3 separate regions of the Homo sapiens genome follow, and regions 1 and 2 are each linked to region 3. The links are contacts of gene promoters, found by promoter capture Hi-C in human tissues and cell types (Jung and others, 2019). All regions are on one chromosome and are shown on one strand. The core of a region is centred on a gene start or on the middle of the fragment in contact, and the rest is flanking DNA. Distances in the headings are between cores, read along the strand shown. Region 1 overlaps LOC100505715 (a long non-coding RNA gene). Region 2 overlaps ZNF180 (zinc finger protein 180). Region 3 holds the start of ZNF226 (zinc finger protein 226).

Region 1 (2,828 bases), core at 170-2,669, 270 kb after region 3:
GGCGCGGTGGCTCACCCCTGTAATCCCAGCACTTTGGGAGGCCGAGGCGGGCGGATCACGAGGTCAGGAGATTGAGACCACGGTGAAACCCCGTCTCTACTAAAAATACAAAAATAATTAGCCGGGCACGGTGGCAGGCGCCTGTAGTCCCAGCTACTCGGGAGGCTGAGGCAGGAGAATGGCGTGAACCCGGGAGGCGGAGCTTGCAGTGAGCTGAGATCGCGCCACTGCACTCCAGCCTGGGTGACAGAGCAAGACTCCGTCTCAAAAAAAAAAAAGAAAAGAAAAGAAAATAGATAAGTGTTGGTGAGGATGTAGAGGAAAGGGAACACTTGTACACTGTTGATGGCAATATCAATTGGTATAGCCATTATGTAAAACAGTATGAAGGTTCCTTAAAATAATAAAAATAAACCTATCATATGAAAAAAAAAAGTGACGAGATGTCTCTACTGTGATTATGTTATACCATATAAGACTCATAGCAGATTGGACTTCTTTTGTGGGCTTGATGAAGTAAGTGGCAATGTTGGAGAAGCCCATCTTGCAAAGGAACTGCAGGTGGCCTGCAGAACCTGAGGGCAACCTCCAGCCAACAGTCAGCAAAAAGGTGAGGCCCTCAGTCGTATGGCCACAGGGAAATGAATTCTCCCTACAATCTGAATGAACCTGGAAATGAATTCTCCCCCAGTTGAACTCCAGAGGAGAACACAGCCCAGGTAACCCCTCGTTTGCAGCCTGTGAGACCAGCCTGAGGACAGCACCCAGCTAAACTCCAGGTCCATGGAAACTGTGAGATTTTATATATTTATGTTGTTTTAAGCTAAATTCGTGGTAATTGGTTATGGTAGCAACTGAAAATTAATGCAGTAAGAAAGTCTAAGGAGATCGGAAGAGACTAAAGAGAAATAACAGCTAAATGCAACGTAGATTAATGTGTGGGATCCTGGAAAAGAAAAAGGACATTAATGGGAAAACATATTTGAATAAGATGTGCAAATTTTTCGTATTGTACCAATGTTAATTTCCTGGTTTTGATAATTATCCTTTGGTTATGTAAGATAAACGCTAGAATGAAGGGTATATGAGAACCCTCTGTACTACTCTTGCAACTTTTCTCTAAGTCTAAAATAAGTGGAAATTAAAAGTTAAAACAAAAAAAAAGGAAAATTTTATCTATCCCAAGACCACAAAGTTATTTTTCTGTTTCTTCCTCCAGAATCTTTATTGTTTGTTTTCACACTTAGACCTATGATCCATCTTGAATTTATATCTGTGTATGTAGTGGGATGAAGTTCAAAATCATTTTTTTCATACAGATATCCAAGTGCACTGGCACCGTTTGTTAAAAACACTGGCCTTCTCTTAAGCTGCAGTCAGACTTTTACTGTAAAGCATGGGCCCATATATGTGCAGGAGTCTTTCTACTTTTCCGTTGGTCCTCTTTGTCAATCTTTGTGCCAGCACCTCCATTTTAATTCCTGTAGCTTTATATTATATCTTGATAATCTGGTAATATAAGTTGAAGAACAACTTTGTTCTTCAAAATCACTTTGTCTATTCCAGGTTCTTTGCATTGCTCTATAATTTTAGAATGAGTTAATTAATTTTCTCAAAACAAACAAAACGCCCTGCTGACATTTTGTTGGCAGTACATTGAATCAGTAGATAAATTTAGAGAGAATTATCTCAAAATTGAGTCTTACAGTTCATGAACATGGAATACATTTCCATTTATTGAATTCATCTTTAATTTCTTTCCTTAAGGTTTTGTTGTTTCCTGTCTAAAGGTCTTGCACATCTGTTAAATTTATTCCTGTTTTACATTTTTTATGTTTTTACAAACTGTTAAGGTTTTAAAAATTTTATTTTTCAGTAGCTTTGCTTTAATATAATTGTTTTATACTTTTACCCTTTATTCAGCAATAAATTATTTAATTTAAAGCTTGTGGAATTAAAAAATATTTTTATGTACATAATCATGTAATCTACACTATCTGCAAATAAAGATCATTTTACTTCCTTCCATTTACACCTTTTATTTTTTCCTTATAATATTGGATAGGTCTTCTACTACAAAATTGAAAAGACATGTAAGAGTAGACAACCTTACCTTGTTCCTGAAATCAGAAAGACAGTGGTCCATATTATGTATAATGATCCCTTTATGTACAATGGTAGTTGTAGTTTTTATTCTTTAGGTCCCCTTTATCAGATGAAAGAAGTTCCCCTCTAGTCCTGGTTTGCTGAGAATTTTTATCATGATTAATGTTGTATATTGTTAAATGGATTATTTCTAATGAAATAATTGAATGGTTTTCTCCTTTATTAGTTAACATTGAAAGATTACATTGATTTTTTAAAAATTAAACTTATACTTGTTTGAGGTTATGGTAAAAAATTAAATTAAATGGCCTTTGAATTTCTAAAATAAAGCTCTCTTGGTCAATATGTTACTGGTTTCTCTTTGCTAATATTTGGTTTAATATGCTTGCGTCTGTGTTCATGAAACAGATATATTGTAATTTTCCTTTTATGTAATATCCTCATCTGGTTTTGATATCACAGTTATTCTGGCCTTATGACATAGTTTGTTTTTTTCTATTTTCTAGAACAAGTTGAGTTTGATTGGCATTTTTAATTTCTTAAATGTTTGGGAGAATTTGCTACTGAATCCTCTTGGCCTGACATTATTTTTGTGAGAAGATCCTTAATACAGATTTAATTTCTTTAATAAATAAAACAATATTTAGATTTTCAATTTCTTATATCAGTTCAAATTGTGTTTTCAAGGAATTTTAAAATTTCATCTACATTTTCAAGTTTAT
Region 2 (2,700 bases), core at 183-2,682, 310 kb before region 3:
ATAAAAACAATATATGTGGGAAAACTTCCAGCCCTCTGTTAATTGTGTGTCTCAAATTTGTTCTGGAAAAGAAAGGGGGAAAGTCTATGAACGACTTTTCAACCTGGCAATTCCATATACAATGTTAAACTTGATTCTTATGACATATTCCTATGAAAATAATAAATACTGGCACTTTTCCTTGCAGAAAGCACTCAGACCTGAATCAGAGAAAATCATATGCCAAAGCCAACTGCCAGTGTTAGACCTCTTTTTCCATAAAGAGTAAATGGAATGCTAACACTAGTGGGCTTATTGAGAAAATTTAAAGGTTGCTGTAGTGTTTAGAACTTAGGCTGGAAAACCATATTTTAGTGCATCATTTTACTACATGATCTTCCAATTAGATAGCTTGTAATCTGTTCCTTACAGCACTTGCTGTTGTTACATGTGAAGATTTTATAAATTTTAGGAAAGTGTCTATGATATATAGTGAAAAGTGTGGGAAAAGAATATAGAAATAATATTCACTTCTAAAACCATTATGATAAAATATTTGTGTATGGATTAGAATAGAAAGGGATTATGGATGTATCTATTCAATTTCTCAGTTTATGTTGGGCCTTCCTTTTTGGAATGTACGCTGTTATGCTATGATAAATGATATAATGAGTAAAAATTATTCAAAGCCAAAAATGAAATACAAAGATTTCCTTCTTTGACTATTTAGGAAAGACTAAGCAACCAAATAGCAAAGATCCCTCAGGATAATGAGGTTTATGTTTGGAATAGCATGAGCAGATTACTACTTAGGACATAGATTCCTAGGAACATTCCTCATTGAAAATAAAATGGATTCCTGGAAATAGGTAACTAGAAATTTTGGCCAGAAATGGTTTCATATGAAGAACTGAGAATGCGTGGGAAGTATAGAGGGCAAGTGGGCTTATTTTCATATATGCAAAGCAATATTAAGGAACTCTATTTTCATGTTTTAGTTCTTCCCCTCATGTAGCATTGTCTCTTTCCTCTGGGATATGTTCCCTGATGTGAGAGTCCTCTGAATAGAAGGGTGCTTCCCTGGCTCAGTGCTGACCGTCTAAATTATGCTTGCAAAAATGCTTTCATGAGGCAAAGTTTTAGTTACTCTTTGATATTTAAGATTTGATTAACATGTCTTTCTGACCTTTCCCTTGAATCATGAATTTGAATCCTGTGGATGACCATATATTGAAGCCTCTGATCCCAGAAAGGTAATAAGCTGAAAGTTGAACTGAGAGACCAGATAATAGAGGTTAATACCCTTGGGATAGGAAAGAAAACTTAAAGGGTAACTGATGGGGTTATCCTTAGCAAAATTCTATCCCTATGAGATGACCCTAAGTGGAGCCATCTCTATGAGGATTAATCCAGAGATTGTTGCACACCTGGCAGTGTCAGGTCTGGGAAAACAGTTGCTGATGTTTTCATGGAGTGTGAAATACTGAAAGCTGCGGGCATCCCTTGGGGACCACTGACCCACACTTTGAAGAACCCTCAATGAGTCTGAAAGAGGTTCAGTATCTCTTGGGAAGGATGTGTTCCAGGCTCCAGGCCTAGTCTTACATGGCCAGTGGGGTTGAAAGACTGTGCCCCTGCAATGGTCTTTTCCTAAGACAGTTGAACAAAGTTCCAAGTCTGTCTGTCCTATTTTAACCATCTTTAAGAAGCACAAAGGGGATATGAGAAAAACAGATGCTGAAATGAAAATTTTAACTGATATCTTACTTATCTCACAAGTCGTGTAAAGAAAGAAATGATATGGTCGAATATTAGATTAGATGGTTTAATGATGTTTTGAGTGTTATATATGAGCTATGATGAGACCTAGAAAATAAAGTAAAAATAAAAAATATATAAGCCATGAACATTCTTCATATTCAGTGACAGTCTGCCTGCCACACCCAGGAATTACAGAGACACTCATAGACCTCACGGGATCCTCCCCTATGTCTCCCATCTCTTCACCACCAGCCCTCAGGGAGTCTCATGTCTCCCAATTACTCTCCAATCATTCCTAGATTTCTGTAACAGTCAGGCCCTGACACCCATGTAACAAGCAGAAACTCAGGGACCTCACAGGGCTCTGGCCCCATGTCTCCCAACTCTTTACTCCAGGCCCTCAGGTACTCTCCTGTGTCTCCCAGATTCTCTCAATCCCCAGCTTACTGCAACATTCAGCTTCCCAAACCCAAGTATCACCTATAGACAAAAATCTCAGGGCCCTCTTCTATCACGTCTCCCATCTCTTCACCTGCAACCCTCAGGGACTCTCCTGTGTCTCCCAGCTCCTCTCCAACCATCCCCAGATTTCTCCTTGGGTCAGCCCTGAACACACAGGAGTCACCCAGAAACTCATAGACCTCACTGTGCTCCTCCCTTATCTCTGTCACCTCTATACCACCATTCCTTAGGGCCTCATCTGTGTCTCCCAGCTATTCTCCAAGCATCCTCAGTTTTCTGCAAGAGTCACCCCTCAGCATTCAGGAGAACCCTAGAAATTCACAGAGCTCACCAGATTATTCCCCAACTACCTCCACCTACACAGCAATGGCTCCCACATACTCCCTGGGGGCCCCACACCTATCTTCCTTTACACTCAGAGACTCCCAGGGCCTCACAGTCACTCCCCATTATCATCATTCAGCTGTAAGTCCTTGCAAATCTCCTGGCCAACGTGAT
Region 3 (2,700 bases), core at 29-2,528:
AGGTGTTGGCCACCACGCCTGGCTAATTTTTGTATTTTTAGTAGAGATGGGGTTTCGCCATGTTGGCCAGACTGGTCTCAAACTCCTGGCCTCAAGTGATCTGCCCGCCTCAGACTCCCAAAGTGCTGGGATTACAGGCGTCAGCCACTGTGCCCAGCCACTATTTTTTAAAAGTCATAGAATAGCCCAGACCTTGAGCAAAGTCCCCACAGTGAAGTCCCAACCTATTTTCACATGATACTAGCCAGCTGCCTATGGCTCATGCAGAACATACCAAAGAAGACTCAGGTCTAGACTCAGACTGCCTCGGTTTCAATGCTAGCTCTGCCTCCTACTAGCTAGGTGGCTATGAGCAAACAAGTTATGTTCTTATGTCTCAGTCTCCTCGGAAAAAGAGTATCACTTCACAGAGCCACTGTATAGTGGAAAGGTGTTCATTTGTATAAACCCCTTAGAATGGAACTTAGCAACTAACGCTAAATTATAATCACTTCTCATGCCCAAATACATGACCCCACACATTCTCTGATTTATGTGAATAAAACAAGAATAACAACAAGTCTTACTCACATGGGGTTCTGCTGCCTCCTCCTCTGTGCAGTGCTTTTTGAGAAGTCAGGGCTGGGGAAGAAAAACAGGCTATGAAGTAACCAGGATTGTGTCTTCATCCCGGATACATCACAGTGGCATCTCCCAGGACCAGTTAGAAGCAACCCTCTCCTTCCTCAAAAGAGGTCAGGGACAATCCAGCTTCATGGACTCACAGAATTTCGCCACAGAACGGGAGTTTCTAGGAAAATTACAGTAGTATTGGTAATTCACGTGCCAGGCAGTTTTACACTTTTTGTATTACCTCGTTTTCTCTCAAAACATTCTATTAGGAAGTTTTTGCTTTTATTTTCCTTCAGAACAGCAAACGAAGGCACGGGGATTAACTAACTCGCTCAATGTGATACTGTATGAAGTGGTAGGGCTGGCTCATTAGGTGGGGGAGTCACAATGAGGGAGCGAACAGCCCGAGAGACCTTCAAACCCGACGAAGCATCACCCCAGCCGCCCGAAGCCAGTACGCCCCCAATTCTAACAAGCTCCGCCCAGGGAAACGCAAAACAGCATCCTGGCCCCTCAAACCTCCGCTCTTAGCCGCTACTCCTTTTTTTCCCCAAACAAAAGACCGCTAGCTGCTGACCACAAGTGCATTTCGGGGAAGTTTGAAAGGTTCCTGAGAAGCTGACCTGAATCACCAAAGCCAGGGAAAAGATGGCTGCTACGTCGTCTTCCTGGGCGGAAGTGCCTGCGAGTATCAGGAGGACCTGGACTACGCTTCCCAGAATTCCACAGCACTGCCTTCCTCGAGCCGGAAGTGCCTACAACTACCTAGAACGATTGGACCTACAGTTCCCAGGATTCCGCAGGGGAAACATTTACAGCCTTACTGCAGCTGAGCTATGCGCGACTACACGGAACTCCGGACTACATATCACAGAATGCTGGAGTTGGGGGAAAAACAGAACAGTACCGCCCTCCTGGACTACACTTCCGGAATGTCCAAGCCTTCTGATGTGGAAGTGTCCAACTACCTTGAGCTCCTGGTTTTCATTTCCCAGAATCCCTCACTTCTCTTTAGGTATTATTATGGTCTGAGTGTTTATGGCCCCCACCAAATTCGTATGTTTAAATCCTAACTCCCAAGAAGATATTAGGAGGTGGAACCTATGGGACGTGATCAGATCAAGAGGGCAATGCCCTCATGAATAGGATTAATGCTCTCTTATAAGTGGCCTGAGGGAGCTCCTTTGCCTCTTTAGTTATGTGAGGACACAGCCAGAAGGACCATGTATGACTTAGAAAGCGGGACCTCACCAGACACTGAATCTGCTGGCACCCGATCTGGGGCTTATGTGCCAGCAATTTCACTCCTAAGTAAATACCCAGGAGAACTGAAAGATATCCACACAAAAACTTGTTCTAAAAAAGTTCATAGCAGCATTAGTCATAATAGTCAAAAAGTGGAGAAGACCCAATGTCCATCAGCTGATGAGTGGATAAACAAAATGTGGTCTAGCCATATAATGCAATATTATTTAGTAATGTGAATGAACAAAATATTGATTCATGTTATAACATAGATGAACTCTGAAGACATTATGTCCAATGAAAGAAGCCAGACACAAGATACCATATATGGTATGATTCCATTTATATCAAATGTGCAGAATAGGCAAGTCCATAGAGACAGAAAGTAAATTAGTTGTCTCCAAGGCTGGGGAGATGTAGTTGGGAATGGGGAGTGACTGTCAATATGTAGGGTTTTTTTTTTCTTACTTTTTTAGAGACAGCGTCTTGTTATGTTTCCCAGAATGGAGTACAGTGGCTATTCACAGGCATGATCATAGCACACTGCAGCCTTAAATTCTTGGGCTCAAGTGATCCTCCCGCCTCAGCCCCCTGGGTAGTTGAGACTACAGGCATGCACCACCACACCCAGCTCATGTAGGGGATTTCTTTTGGGAGCAGATGAAAGAGTTCTAGGATTAGATAGTGGTAATCATTACATAATATTGTGGATCTTTTCAAAGATAGAAAAATGTTATGTGACAATATCCCCTAAAGCGTTAAAATGTAGCTAAACTCAAAGCTAAGACAGGGAAATCCCAACGGCCAAAGATGAACAGGCAAGTTAGGCCCACAGATGAAAAA

What was found. The method cuts DNA at HindIII sites, captures the fragments that hold promoters and counts their contacts. A contact is called where the count stands out against the background at its distance.
Region 1: a contact is called between a fragment that was not itself captured here and the fragment with the promoter of ZNF226 in region 3, in 2 of the 25 tissues and cell types used here (spleen and stomach).
Region 2: a fragment that was not itself captured here is called in contact with the fragment with the promoter of ZNF226 in region 3 in 2 of the 25 tissues and cell types used here (IMR-90 fibroblasts and liver).

What each region holds. Positions count from the first base shown.
Region 1 is chr19:43,891,004-43,893,831 of GRCh38, reverse strand. LOC100505715 (a long non-coding RNA gene) reads left to right here. Exons shown (of 3, transcript NR_038334.1): 3 at 692-2,028. Among named protein-coding and RNA genes, the nearest start is that of ZNF404, 8.5 kb to the right of the region's middle. The HindIII fragment of the contact is 7,085 bases long and covers 1-2,828 here.
Region 2 is chr19:44,473,614-44,476,313 of GRCh38, reverse strand. ZNF180 (zinc finger protein 180) reads left to right here. Exons shown (of 5, transcript NM_001278509.3): 5 at 1-1,871. Among named protein-coding and RNA genes, the nearest start is that of ZNF180, 26 kb to the left of the region's middle. The HindIII fragment of the contact is 8,219 bases long and covers 1-2,700 here.
Region 3 is chr19:44,163,678-44,166,377 of GRCh38, reverse strand. It overlaps ZNF226 (zinc finger protein 226), which reads right to left and starts at 1,278. Exons shown (of 6, transcript NM_001032373.2): 1 at 1,236-1,278; 2 at 571-621. RefSeq lists enhancers at 1,257-1,376, 1,437-1,586. The HindIII fragment of the contact is 21,073 bases long and covers 1-2,700 here.